Linked DNA regions of Homo sapiens: regions 1, 2, 3 and 4 are each linked to region 5. The links are contacts of gene promoters, found by promoter capture Hi-C in blood cells and fetal thymus (Javierre and others, 2016). All regions are on one chromosome and are shown on one strand. The core of a region is centred on a gene start or on the middle of the fragment in contact, and the rest is flanking DNA. Distances in the headings are between cores, read along the strand shown.

What was found. Contacts are between HindIII fragments. The CHiCAGO score rates a contact against its expected background, and 5 or more counts as called.
Region 1: a fragment that was not itself captured here is called in contact with the fragment with the promoter of AJAP1 in region 5 in 1 of 17 cell types (naive CD8 T cells); the score reaches 5.5 in naive CD8 T cells.
Region 2: the fragment with the promoter of NPHP4 here is called in contact with the fragment with the promoter of AJAP1 in region 5 in 1 of 17 cell types (endothelial precursors); the score reaches 6.4 in endothelial precursors.
Region 3: a fragment that was not itself captured here is called in contact with the fragment with the promoter of AJAP1 in region 5 in 1 of 17 cell types (endothelial precursors); the score reaches 5.9 in endothelial precursors.
Region 4: a contact is called between a fragment that was not itself captured here and the fragment with the promoter of AJAP1 in region 5, in 2 of 17 cell types (total CD4 T cells and naive CD8 T cells). The highest score is 5.7, in total CD4 T cells.

The regions. Positions count from the first base shown.
Region 1 is chr1:5,743,660-5,746,509 of GRCh38, forward strand. No RefSeq gene overlaps it. Among named protein-coding and RNA genes, the nearest start is that of MIR4689, 120 kb to the right of the region's middle. RefSeq lists an enhancer at 2,139-2,850. The HindIII fragment of the contact is 4,867 bases long and covers 1-2,850 here.
Region 2 is chr1:5,991,039-5,993,738 of GRCh38, forward strand. NPHP4 (nephrocystin 4) reads right to left here and starts at 1,387. Exons shown (of 30, transcript NM_015102.5): 1 at 1,206-1,387. It also overlaps a transcript of KCNAB2 not described here. RefSeq lists enhancers at 1-810, 2,687-2,700 and silencers at 887-1,066, 1,217-1,386, 1,427-1,606, 1,687-1,936. The HindIII fragment of the contact is 3,854 bases long and covers 1-2,425 here.
Region 3 is chr1:5,971,031-5,973,730 of GRCh38, forward strand. All of the region lies in intron 3 of NPHP4 (nephrocystin 4), which reads right to left. Among named protein-coding and RNA genes, the nearest start is that of NPHP4, 20 kb to the right of the region's middle. RefSeq lists an enhancer at 587-1,086. The HindIII fragment of the contact is 8,814 bases long and covers 1-2,700 here.
Region 4 is chr1:5,904,788-5,907,642 of GRCh38, forward strand. NPHP4 (nephrocystin 4) reads right to left here. Exons shown (of 30, transcript NM_015102.5): 13 at 2,328-2,435; 14 at 845-996; 15 at 505-696; 16 at 1-17. Among named protein-coding and RNA genes, the nearest start is that of MIR4689, 43 kb to the left of the region's middle. The HindIII fragment of the contact is 187 bases long and covers 1,407-1,593 here.
Region 5 is chr1:4,653,288-4,655,987 of GRCh38, forward strand. It overlaps AJAP1 (adherens junctions associated protein 1), which reads left to right and starts at 1,322. Exons shown (of 6, transcript NM_018836.4): 1 at 1,322-2,167. The coding sequence starts at 2,139. The HindIII fragment of the contact is 10,824 bases long and covers 1-2,700 here.

The sequences.
Region 1 (2,850 bases), core at 82-2,581, 1.1 Mb after region 5:
GTCCTGGGGCAGCCTCCCCGTCTCCCTGCCCATGTGGTCCTAGGCACTGTGCATCCATTTTTGCTACCCACCCTAGCCCTGGGGAAAGGAGACCTGGACCCAGCCAACGACCACCGTCCCCAAGCCCTGAGGTGGCCCAGGCCTGGGTGCTGGACCCCAGCAAGGCTGGTCCCACCCTTCCATGAGATCTGCTGTGTCCACACTACCAGCAAGAAGCTCTGCCCCTTTACAGAAGACATCCAGCTCCAGCCCAGCCACAGGGCTCCAAACACTTTTCTGGAGAAAGTCGGGCCTGCCACGCTCACAGAGCCCAGATCCAGCTCTGAGTGAAGCTGGCTGGGCCTCGACCCTGGGTAACTGGGCCCCAGCGCAGAGTCTCCATGTGCACCTGGGGGGGTGTTCTTTTTTTCTTTCTTTTTCTTTCTTTATTCTTCCCTCCCTCCCTCCCTTCCTCCCTCCCTCCCTTCCTTCTTCCCTCCCTCCCTTCCTTCTTCCCTCCCTCCCTCCCTTCCTCCCTCCCTCCCTTCCTCCCTCCCTCCCTTCCTTCTTCCCTCCCTCCCTCCCTTCCTTCTTCCCTCCCTCCCTCCCTTCCTCCCTCCCTCCCTCCCTTCCTCCCTCCCTCCCTTCCTTCTTCCCTCCCTCCCTTCCTTCCTTCCTCCCTCCCTTCCTTCCTTTCTCTCTTTCTTTCTTCCATGTATTTATTTAATTTTACTCACGCTACTTTGACCCTTTCAACTGAAAAAAGTCCCAGCCAATCCCCACATCCAAGAGCCGGCCCTCCTTCCAGGAGCTCCCAGTGCTGACACGGGGGTAGGCCTGATGCTGACTGCATCTGGAATTCAGAGAAGCCAGAGGTCAGAGTGAGCCCCCAGCTCTGCTTCCAGCTCAGCCCCTCCCTGGACCTCAATTAACCCCAGGCCTGAGCTGAGTTTAGAATCCTGTAGCCTGTCTGAGATTCAGCTTTGATGACCAACTCAAGCCCCCAACACACACGCACGCTCACAGATACAGAGTCACTGGCACAGAGACACACACACGTACACACAAAGAGACACACAGACACACACAGGAAAAGACACACAAACTGAGAAAGCGACACAGATACACACAAACACACAGACACACACAGAAATACACACAGACACACACAAGCACGACACATACACAGATACACAGAAAAAGACATACAGACACACAGACAGACACACAGGAACACAGAGAGACACACACACAGATACACACAGAGACAACACACAGGCACACACACATCTGTGACGCTCTGAAGACTCAGGCAGGGCTGTCCGTCACCCAGCACAGCCTCATCCTGCCAACCAGGCTGGACAGGGCCCCTGAGGCCATTGCGGGGGCAGAGCAAGTTTGCACGGGGAAACCCACGTTCGTTCCCTCATAACGCTGGCTGCAGCATCCCAGGCAAAGGCTTCCCAGGCTGAAGGGGGCTCCGTGCAGGAGGAGGGGCCCCCACATGCCACCCCATGCCCCACTTTCCTCCCTCTCTCTTCCCACCTGCCACCTCCGGCTCCGCGGCAGGGAGTTCTGGTAACAGCTAGACACACGGGCAGAAACCCACAAAAAGACTCACACACGTGTGTGTGTATTCCAAGGAAGAAGTGAAAGCTCTGCTCCCGTTGCCATGGCAACCCCACCCGGAGCTACAGCAAGAGCTTTAATTGGCAGTACTTATTTGGCTGAAACCCCAAGAATAATCAACAGGAGATTAGAAACATTAAAAACCAGCAGGAGCATCCTGGAGAAGACGATGACAGACAGGACGATCCCCCTGAAAACTCTATTGATGACAGTAATGACAATTGTACGGTTTATTGCGTGACCGTGTCACGCCAGCCTGTGCTAAGTTCTTTGCATGTGTTATTTCGTTGGATCCTTCCAACAGCCCTTTGATCATTTCTCCCATTTTGCAGATGGAAAGTTCTCTGAGGCTCAGAGAGGTAAAGGAAGTGGCCCAAGGCCACACAGGATTTAAAGACTGCTTGGAATGACTCCGAACGCCACCTTGGTCATGACGGTCATGAGCACTGAGCTTTGCCTGGGGTCCCCCAGAAGGCACCAGCGTCAGCAACTGGGACCCCTGTAGCTCTTCCAAGGCAGCTGACACCCCCTATGCCCCCAGTGGCTAAAGACCACAGCTCAGCCAGCCAGAGGGCCTGGCCAGGGTTGACCTCCAAGACACCAGCCAATGCCTGCGTCCAGGTTGCTGCCAGCTTTACCCCTCAGAACTCCCGTCCCTGCCGCTCCTCCGGCCACAGCATCCACCCTGCAACCCGCCATGGGCCTGCTGACCCCTGGTGGCAGCCATGGGGCATGGCACCAAGACGTGGACTTAACTCCCAGACCCTAAGGAGGAGGGCGCTGGTCCAGGAGCTCCCCATGCTTGGGAGAGCCCCTGCGAAGGGTTCTGGGGGGGGCCAGAGCCAGGCAGGCAGGGCAGCGTGGCCAGCACCCAGCACCTTTTGCAGGCGCTCAGAAGGGAAGAGGGGGCTCCGGGAAAGGCTGCCCTGTAGTTGCTCCCTTTTCTGCTCAGGCAGCAGCTGACAGGGGAGGCCAGTTAGCACCAGGGATCCTCTGGCCATGACAGTCCTGCCACCAACGACAAGCAAGTGAATGAGGACTGTCCTGCCCAGAGCCCAGCCAATCGGCACTGCAGACAAGGGACGCTGACCTGGACTGGGTCCCTGGCCAGGTCCTAGACCTGGAAGGGCTCTGCCATCCCATTCACAGCCCCCAGGCCACTGATGGCAGCACCTGGACCTTGGACCCTGGACCCTGAGCCCTGGTCTCAATCATGACGTCTGTGCCGGTGCTGTCTGAGCG
Region 2 (2,700 bases), core at 137-2,636, 1.3 Mb after region 5:
CAGAGGTGAGCAGGGCTGAAGGAAGATGCAGGGGGTGGGAGGCGCTGTCAGGGTCCGGGAAGCCTCCTTCCCGGAATGGAAAATGTGTAATGCCTGAGACCCAGATGCCTTGGGGAGCTTTTGGGGAAGCAGAGGTCTGATTAAGCACTGCCTGGAATTCCCTCATTCATGAGCATTCTTTCAGCACCTACCCTGCGCCCGGGAGAAACGGTCTTGAACACAGCAGACAAGCTCGCTACCCCCATAGAATGTAAAGAAACGGGGCACAAATTAGCATACAAAAAGACACAAGTGTGACCTACGGAAACTGCACAGAGGAGGTGCAACGAACGGAGCCCTGGGTTAGGACCGGGAGGCGCTGCCCACCATCAACAGAAATACTCCTCCTTTTGCCAACTACACACGCGAGAGGCTGGATTTCCTTCACAGACGTCCACCAAAGCCACACATCGCGACACACGGAGGCAGAAAGCAGCGGTCTCCTAAGAAGTTAGACACGAGGAATCTCGGGCAGCGAGGTGCCTGCAAGCCCGGGGGCGGGCGGGAGCAGCCTGCACGCGTGGGGAAGGGCACGCGGGAGCGGGTGGCGCCTTCCGGGCCGGGTCGGCCGGGAGGTTCCAAGGCAGGAAAGGGGCGCAGAAGGCCGGGACGGCGCCGGGTACAAAGCCTCGCAGGGACGCCCGAAGGCCGCAGAGCCACCGCGGGGAACTGACAGCCGGAGCCGGAGCTGGAGCCGGGGGGCGGGGAGGAGGGGCGGAGGGGCGCGGCCAGGCGGGGTCCGCGGACTCCGGCCTGGGAAGGATGCGCGCGGACTAGGGCGCGGGGAGCCAAGGCCCAGAACATCGGTACCGCGCTCCCTTCAGCCGAGGGGCTGCAGAGAGGCCAGGGGGCAGGGGGCAGGGGGCAGGGGGCAGGGGGCAAAGGGCAAGGGCAGAAAGGAACCCACGTAGCCAAACGGCACCCAGCGGCCCCGACCCCAAGTGTCCCGACGAGGGGGGACGCCTGCGACTAACGCGGGGACAGCCCCCGCCGCGCGCCACCGCCGCACCCCAGGCACCGGGCCCCCACGCAGGGACGGCGTGGACCACCCTACCCCCGAACCCCGAGGCTCTGGCCAACACTGAGGCCCCCTGTGCCTCGAGGCCGCGTCCAACCTCCCCCGCGGCGCCGGCCCACATGGTTCCGCCCGCCGCGGGCCGCGTTACCTAGGAGACCGACCCGCCGCGGCCGCGCCGGAGGCCACGGAGCCCACGCTTTTCAGAGAGTCTCCACTCGACGGACCCAGAGGCCCGGCGGCCGGTGCTCAACGGAGCCACAAGCCTGAGGACCGAGGACTGGCCGAGGGGCGCGCCCCGTCCGCTGCCACCCGCGGGAGGAGCCTCGGAAGGCGGCGCACCGCGCCGCACACTCAGTCCAAGAACCCGCCTCGCGTCACTGTCGCCGTCAGGGCCGCGGAGCCAATCAGAGCCCAAGTCGAGGGCTGCGCTTTGCGAGCGCCAGCCAATCGGTGCGGCGGCGGGCCCATCCTGATTTGCATGTCCGACGACCCCTCAACCAATGGTAATGTGACTGGCGTGAACAATAGCCAATCAGAAGCTGGAAGAGGCGTGGCCCCGGGCGTCCCACGAGGTGAAGATGCTGCTGGCGGAACCTGCAGGAGCTAGCGGGATTCGGGGGCGCTAAAGTCGCAGGGGCAGGGCGGGAAGGAAGATCCGGCGCGGGGCACAGGATCCGGAGCTGGAGCCCCCAGGTGAGTACCGGGGAGACCCCGGCGGGGCGCGCTTTCCACCAAGCTGCTCCGGGACGGCGGCGGCGGGTATCCGCGAGGCCCGCGCTGCGGCAGGCGCCGCGGTCCCGTCTCCATCTCTTCTTCCCCGGCCCTGCGTCCCTGCCTCCGCCGCTGTCTCACCTCCTCTCCAGCCTCCTCACCTCCTTCTCCATCGTCTCCCTTCCCCCATCCCTTTCTGTCTTTCCTTCCCTGTCCTCCCGCCCGCCCGACCCTTCAGCTCGCATCCCTGACCCCTGCCCCTGCCGCCGTCCCTCTTCCCGGTGCACCTCTTCCCCATCTCTGCCCGCTCCGGTCCTAGCAGCCTCGCCCTCCCCTTTCCTCCATCCTCCTCTCATCCCCTCTCCCGGCCTCTGCGCAGCCCCACCGGGGCGCTGCTGTTCCCGGTCCTCCCCATCTCTCCTCCTGATCGCTTCTCAAGGCTCATCCGTCGTTCTCGCTGCCTGTCCCTGTGTCGCTCCGGTCCCTTTCCCCACCCTCCCATTCTGCCCCCAGCCCCTCCGACCTCTCCCCGCGGGCACGCTCTCACCACCTTACCCTGCTCCCCAAGACTGTGACCCTGCTTCCTGCACCAGTTCCTCGGGCTGTTTACAGCACACACACCGCCACTTCTGACCCTGAGCCCCTACTCCTATCTTAAGCTTCTCCCTCCTGCCAGGCCTTGGCACAAAGCACTTCCGCACCTCCCTACCTGCTGCTGCTCCCAGGATGCAAAGACCCCACTGCTGCACCGCGTCCTGCGGCATTAGCAGCAGCCGGGGTACCTGCCCACCTTCCCACCCCGCCAACCAGCCGCATCCTGGTGTCCCTCCTCCTGGCATTTGTCCTGGGGGCTCTTACAGGGACTGTGCTTTGCCCGCAGCATCCCGGGGTGCTCCAGGTGGAAAGCCCCTTAGCACCTTTCCTCCCTGGCC
Region 3 (2,700 bases), core at 30-2,529, 1.3 Mb after region 5:
ATACCTGTGCTTATCAGTCTTACGAACACTACTCACTTTTTCTATTGGCAATAAACATTTTCAACTCTGATACCCAGCAACAACAATCTGCCAGCCTAGAGGTCACCCTGAAATTACTCTACCTGAACCGGGTGGAACCTGCCGCTACGGGCATGTCCCAAATACAAGTTTATGGCTATGCCTCTCCCTTCTGTTTACCACTAAAAATAATCACTCTGAGGCCAAAAACAACAACAACAGCAACAGAGCCCCAGAGCTGCTTGTCTCAGCTGATCCAACCTTAGAATCTAAAGAATCCATCTTTAATCAGAAGAGTCAGCCGCTCCAAGTGCAGCATGTTTGAAAAGTTCAGATGGTTGTACCAGTACAATTACTGATTGATAAGGACATATGTTCTTTTCCAAAAATCATTTATTGACCCTCCAGTGTGGGAACAGCCCCAAGCTAAAGAATTTATAACGAACCTGGAAAACACAAGTCAGCTTTCAAGAAGCTCGAGCCTCGAAGGCTTCATAAACGACAGATGAGGCAGGCACAAAACTGCGAGCAACAGAGCCACATGGCTGCACCCCTCGGGTCACCCCAGCAAAGTCATATTCGACCAGGTCACCGGTGCCTGACCACCCAATTCCCGCCTCACTCAGCCAGGCAGCACCCAGCTGAGGAATACCTGTACACACATCCTTCAGTCTAGGGAAACTTAACGAGCGCCACTGCCATACATTTGGAAAGGAACATTCTCTACATCAACTGAAACTGCACTATTAAAAGGTTAAGTCAAGCCCATCAAATCGCCTGCAGGGCAAGGTCACTGGAGACAGAGGGAGACGGGCTCTCTGTCACCCCTGCCTCGCAGCTCACTTATCTGCACTGGTCAAGTTTCCTCCTTGACAGCATAAACAGATTAATAAATCATTTAAATGCTCCTGTCTTAATGCCTTCATCTTCAAAAACACGGACACCATTTTGCCTCGGGGCCCAGTTTCCATTTTTCACCCGCAGTGATGGAAGTGGAATTGGGCCTCTGCCGATGTGCCTGGATGAAGAGGCCGCAGCCGGGCACCCCCCATGGCACGGCCACATGACCTGGCACCTGCATGACATGGGCTCCTCAGACAACGCTGGGCAGCAAGGCCAGAGAGGAGCTGAGCAGGAACAGAATGAGTCCCTTCCAAAGAACTGTTTTAATAAGCCTTTAACAGGATATCTTCAGCCAGGCAAACAATGCAGAGACTTCATGCAGTTCCTACCCTCTGGCTCAGACTCACACTGCGGGTTCGGAGGGCTTCCCAGACACTACCCCTCAAAGACAGCAGGGATCGGGGGAGCCCAGATTTCCACAGCAAAGCATCATGACAGGGACAGGGACAGCCCCCTGCCCCACGAATTATCCAGCCCACAATGTCAGCAGTGCCAAGGTTGAGAAACTCTCATTTGGAGTAAAAATGTAAACTTTAATCCTGGCTGAAAGGATAATACAACATCTTATCCATCTCTGCACTTCCAGCTCCTAAACACAGCCTGGCACACAGAAGACCCTTAACCAACATTTCTTGAATAAAAACTACTGCCCACTGGGTCCCTGCTTATGGAAAAGCACATGACTAAATACTCCAGCAGCACTTAGGGGATGCACACTCTTTATCTCTCATGAGCAAATGAATCAAGTCAGGAGGAGCTTATTTTTTTCTTGCAAATTAATTTAATTTCTTTCTTTCTTTTTTTTCATAGGTTTTTGGGGAACAGGTGGTATTTGGTTACATGAGGAAGCTCTTTAGTGGTGATCTGTGAGATTACGGTGCACCCATCACCCGAGCAGTATCCACTGAACCTAATTTGTAGGGTTTTTTTTTGTTTGGTTTTTCTTTTTTTTGACAGAGTCTTGCTCTATCACCCAGGCTGGAGTGCAGTGGCGTGAATCTCAGCTCACTGCAACCTCCACCCGCCGAGCTCAGGTGATTCTCTAGCCTCAGCCTCCCAAGTAGCTGGGATTACGCGTGTGTGCCACCACGCCCAGCTAATCTTTAAATTTTTAGTAGAGACAGGGTTTCACCATGTTGGCCAGGCTGGTCTCAAATTCCTGATCTCAAGTGATCCATCCACCTGGGCCTCCCAAAGTGCTGGGATTACAGGCATGAGCCACTGCACCCGGCCTCAATTTGTAGTCTTTTATCCCTCACCCTCTAGGATCAAGGAGTTTAAAGCACTTGTCTGAAGTCCCACTGGGATCAGTGATGGAGTAGGACACTAGCCCATCCTACCTCAACTCCGACGCCCATGGCGAAAGCCAGTTCTCCCTCTGGCCTAAAGAGCAACTCCTTGGCTTACTTAGAAAAGTAAGTGAGCAGACATGATTATAACCCAAAGCAAGAAATATCTAACCCCAGCTCTACCAAAATAAAAACATTTAGCTGGGTCTGGTGATGCATGCCTGTAGTCCCAGCTACTTGGGAGGCTGAGGAGGGAGGATCACTTGAGCCCAGGAGTCCAAGGCTGCAATGAGCTATGATCGCACCATTGCACTCCAGCCTGGGCAACATAGTGAGACCCCATCTCTTAGAAAAGAAAGATCCCACACTATGCTGCTGTGAACACACAACAACAAAATTGACAAACTTACAGCTTTCCATTGTCCCCAGATGACTGACAGTTCAATCACTGTACAATTAAACACTGGAAACGTCACAGAGACCAATCATT
Region 4 (2,855 bases), core at 250-2,749, 1.3 Mb after region 5:
GGCAGTCCTGGGCCACTCTGAATCCAACAACAGCTCTGGGTTAACTGAGTATCCATGGCACAGAACCTGAGGGGTCTAATGTGTGTTTGCATAGGGGATGGTCCAGGCACCTTAGTCGCTGGGGAACAGTAAAGAGGCTGCCGTGGTCACCAATGCAACCGCTTTGCTGTGCTCTCAGCAAGCCGGCCAGACAGCAGCATTCTCGAGTGTAAGGACACTCCCGGCTAGAGAAGCTGCCTTTGGAGCTACACTAAGATCTAAGACCTGGACAACCCACCGTCCACATTTTAATGAAGGACCACAAAAGATGGGGTAAAGCAGCTTTCACAGCATTTAGCATGCTGTGGGTGGGTCCTAGCCAAGAGAAGATAAAAACAGATGGCACTCCCGAATCTACTAAGACCTCAGCACAGACAGTTCTGCCAGGTCAGAACCTCAGCGAAGTTTCTCTTCAACACAGGAAATGTGAAAGCCAGATGAGTAACAGAATATTCAAGGATTTACCTGCTAAAGGCAAGAAACTGTAGCACCATCTCGTTGCTTTGTAGACAATCTGATTCTTCCTTCTGAGGGTTAAACGTCACAGGTTCTGTAGCGCTGACAGCCTCGGCTGGCTGTTTATTGGCATCCAGAATCTCGGGAAAGCCGGAGGACTGCAGGAGCACCATGGAGGCTCTCGAGGGCTGCCCTGCAGAGCTGAGACACAGAGACTCCTCAGGTAGCCTCCCGGGAAAGGGGGGACCCATTGATGCACCTCCCTGTGGAAACCCTGGGGTTCACAAGGTCCAACAGTCTGACGGCACAGCACGTGACTGGTTCCATCCCACCCAGACCCACACCTCACCTCCTGGTCTGGGTTCCCACAACAATAGGGGCATGCAAAGGCGTGAACGGCAGCTCCTGTAACTGTTCGGCAATGGATGTTTCCAGGACCAGGGAGGTCTGGCTCAGGTCGGCTTCCAGGTGGGAGATACCGGCCTCCAACGGGAACTCCTGCTGAACAAAACGAGGGCTTCCAAGTGAGGCCACCAAGGACCCCAACCCGTAACAACCAACGGTGCTCAGATCTAAGGGGATTCATCGATTAATTGCCTCTGGAGGGTTGCCAGCTCTAGCAAATACAAAAGGTTCAATTACACTTGAATTTCAGGTAAACAACAAATGATTTTAGTATAAGTATGGTCCCTACGATATTTGGGATATACTTACACTAAAAAATTATTTGTTGTGTACCTGAGGTTCAAATTTAACTGGGCATCCTATATTTCACGTGGCAATCCAATGTGTGAGTTGAGAAGCGGTGAGGAGGGAATCCTAATTTTATGAGCAGGTCAGGACCGTGGGAGATACCTGACACCTGAGATGGTAAATTCATATCAAAGCATGTTTATAGAACAGAAAGATGAAGCTTCCTCAATACTCCAAGATAAACTGTGGCACCGAGCCCCTGGCTGGCGTGTTTGGACAGTCTCTTGTCCCCACAGCCCCTGAAACTTCTTGTCATTCACTCGTATTCCACCTCCACTCCCCTCCAAGGCCGAGGCAGGCCTCTCAGAGAGGAGCTGGCTTGGGAGTTGGGAATGTGCTCTCTCAAGCTTCATTCCCAAGCTTTCTGTTTCAGCCCAGAGGAAACCAGGTCACCCTCACACCATGTCTCATGCGCCAATAATAAAAAGCTAGGCAAGCTCTTCACAAACACATGAGCCCCAGAGATGCTTTAGATAAAGCAGCAGAGACTCATGGTGCTAGGAGTGTTTTCAAACAAGGAATTAAAAGAAACTATTTTTCCTCAACATAATTCCAGTTAAGACCAAAGATGCAGTTTGCAGGTGAACCAGCCGACTTTGGAAACCAAACTCCATAGGAATTCCCCAAGGCCAGTGGCAATGCCAGTCTTAGCCAGGAGCACACCCTGAAGCCAGGATGGCGGGCTCCACTCACCTCCTTTAGCTGCTGATAGCAAGGAGGGTCCTGGGGTGCTGGGTGCCTGTCTCAGCCTGTCTATAGATATAGCCACACCTTCCTTTTACTTTCACGTAGAGACCTAGGGGTAGCTTAACTTTGTTTTCATGGGTAGAGCACAATCTGAGTCAAGCGCTGTGGTATGAAGAACTCATGGGCCACATTCTTCTTTGGTCTCCAAGACAGAATGGTGACAACTGTCTGAGGCCTCAGAGTAAGCAATGCCCCACTCCCACCCACATCCCAGGTAACCCGCCAAGGTCTCTGCCACCTAACTAAGGACAGGCACAGTGCAAAAACCCAAAATGAGGAGCTGTGGAGCCATTCCTTGGTGGAAGGCAAGGCGGCAGGTGGGCGGCACTTACTGCCTGGGCCGGGGAGGCCTGAGAGCCATGGGGTAGCTGTGAAGTAGGCCTGGCCAAGCAGTGCTGAGTCGGGGACCGCGGGGAGGCCGCCAGCTGGGAAATTGACAACTGGAAGGAAAGAGAGCACAGGTGAGGGGCTCAGAAGCTTGCCAGTCCGTCCACAAAGCTCCCAACATGCACTGGCCACACCGGGGAACGGGGTAGCCCTGGATCCAGCCACGGAAGGGAGTGATGCCTGCAGCCTCCTGGCCAGGGCAGCTCTGGAACCTGGGACCGCTTCTCAAGTTCCTTTATTTAATGACAGAGAGGTGATTCCATGATCTCCCCCAGATCATAATATCTGAATAAGAATATTATTAACAAGGAAAACAAGCAAGAAAGGAGAAAGCATCTCAAGCTACAGGGGCGGCCTGGCCTCTGCCTCTCTGTCCCTTGCCAGCACTGGACTGAGCACCTCCAAGGCCCTGCCAGTTCTAGCCGCCTGCGTTCCTATCGAACAAACCTCCCTGTTAAGGCAATGACCATCTT
Region 5 (2,700 bases), core at 72-2,571:
TGAAAGGGCTGCTTGGGGGACTTAAGCCCCAAGCTATGGTTCGCCTGGGAGACTGAGCCCCAAGCCATGGTCCTCCTGGCTCTGCCCTTCCACCCCCTCACTGGCTGCCCCTCCCAGGGAGGCCTCACCTGTGAAGTGCTTCCCGCCCCTCTCACCCCCCACGGCTCTCACATGGCCTGGGGCGATTCCAGAGCTGGCCTGGGTCAAGCACCTGCACAGAGCACAGAGCGAAGGCTCGGCATGGTATATCCCCCGCCCCTTGCACCTTTCCCCAGTGAAGGGTGGCACCAGTGTCCTTTCCAAGGCCCGGATTCTGCACTGCCCTCAGCCTGTGGAGGATTAAAAGCAGGGTTTTGCCGTGGTTTCTCAAGGCGTCAGCGGGTCTGCAGAGGATTCCGCCCCATGTCACTTCTCTCAGTGAAAGGTCCCCGCCCAGCGTCTGTCCTCCTTTAAGTGCCCCCCATTTGTTTTTTGTTGTTGTTTTTGTTTGTTTTTTGCAAATACAGACTAACCAGGTAGGCACAGAGGAGTCCTGGCATGGGAAGGGAGCAGTGAAACGCCGGTGGAGAGTCCGGGAGGCCCAGATTCCCTGGAACTTTCCAGTGACTCCTCCGGAGCAAGGGCCTGGCCAGGCAGCAGCTGCGCTGGGCGATGAGGGACCGTTGGGTAATTGGGGGCATAGGACCGGGCTTCGCTGGGTTCGGGGCAGAAGCGCCGAAGCTCCGACCCGGAACGCGGTGACTTCATCAACGCAGAAGCCCGCGCAGCCGAGCAGAGGAGTCCCTCGTAGGCGACCCTCGGACAGACGCTCCTGCGCGGCCCGCGTGGCTCAGCTCCGCCCCAGGAAACTTTTCGCGCAGCCCCCGCTCCATGCGCCCCCACCCAGTCCTTCTTCGGGGCCGCCCCCTCCCCAAAGTAGCTCTCCGGGTCCACTGGGCGCCCCCGTAACCGGGTCGGAACCTCGAACGGCTTCGCGTGCCATCCGGTTACCCTGGCAACACCATCCGGCGGCGCCCGGCGGTCCAATCCTAGCCTGCGGCCTCTCTCGAGCCTTTCGCAAGGTGGGGACCGGGACGCGACCGGGGATGGGGAAGGGGGCTGCAGGAGGCCCCGCCTGCGCTGTCGCCCCTGCTGGGCACAGCGCCCCCCACCACCCGCGGCGACCCCGGCCCCCGCAAGGTGGGGCGGCGAGCAGGAGCCGGGGCCAGGCCAGGGGCTCGAGCTCCCGTTCGAGGGGCGGGGAAGGCGGGTGACGTGAGCCGGGCCGGGCGGGCGGAGTTGGGACCGGCTCCGGGAGGCGGGGGCGAGCGCGCGGAGAGGCAGACGCGAGGAGGGAGGCGGCTGAGCAGCGCGGGCGGCTCTGCGGCGGGCGCGGTGGGCGCGGGCGGCGGGGCCCCGGGATCCCCGCGCGCCTCCTCCGCGCGGCGCCGCCGCCGCGCGTCCCCACGCCCCGCGCTCCACGGCGCCCTCGCCCCGCGCGCCTCTCGTGCCCGCCTCCTGCCAGTCTCCGGGCCGCGGCCGTCTGCAGAGCGAGCGCTCAGACGGAGCCCCCGGGCAACTTGAGTGGCGCCGATCGGCGGCGGAGCCTCTGGCAGAGCCCCCCGACCCGGCAGCGCGGAGGGGACTCGCGTCCGTCCGCGTCGCGTCACCCCAAACCCTAAGCAGCGCCGCCCCATCGGCGCGGAGCTCCGGCTGGAGGCAAGAGCCGCGCGCCGGGAGACACGCACCGTGAGCGGCAGCGCCGCCGGCCTCCCTCCTCGCCGCCCCGGAGGGCGAAGCCGCGGCTCCCCAGCCCTTTGCTGCGCCGCGACAGCGCCGGAACACGCCCCGCCTCGCTGCCGCCTTCGCTGTGCCGCCGGCGGAGGGGGCCGCGAGCCCCGCGCCCCGGCCGGAGGATGTGCGCCCCCGCGGGCCGCCCAGCCTGAGCCATGCGCCCCAACGGCGGCGGCGCGCCGGCCGGCATGGAGCCCCGCGCGGCCGCGCTCTGACTCGCTGTGCGCCCCGCGGCCGGCGGGCGGCGGGAGGCGGCGGACCGAGAGCCGGAGACCGGCGCCGCGGGACGGAAGCGAGCGGGCGCGGGCGCCGCGCAGATGGCCTGGGCGAGCCAGGTCTGAGGCCCCGCTCCCCGAAACGTGACCATGTGGATTCAACAGCTTTTAGGACTCAGGTGAGCGACCCGGCCGGCGCCGGGTGCGTGTGGGCGCGTGGGTGCCAGGCTGGGCGGAAGCGGCGCTTTCCTCTATGTTGCAAATCAAGGGACCCCTCTTCGCTTCCCGCAAGCGGGCAACGGGGTGCACCGGTAGCCGGAAAGGGGCGCCCGCCCGGAGCCTGGAGCAGCACCGCGGCCCTGGCGGGGAGCGGCCGGGTCTCCAGGGTTCCGCGCGTCCGGGGTCGGGGCAGCGGCGCCCGCCCCAGCAACCCGGGAAGTGGGGCCGGCCAGGCGCGCCCGCAGCTCTAGGAGCCAGCAGCGCAGTGTCCTGGCCGGCTGCCCCGGCGCGCCTCCTCCCCGGGGCCCGGGGCGAGGCGCCGGCCGCTGGGCGCGGCGGGCGCGGGGGCCGGGGCTGCCGGGGAAAGCTAAAGCTCCGGGCTCCCAGCGAGAGCTTCGCAGGCGGAGTTGGAGGAAACCACAGCCAAACAGCCACTCCGCTCCCCCTTCTCCTTTCTCGGGGCCCCGGGGCTGAGCAGGGGCCTCCCAGGCTC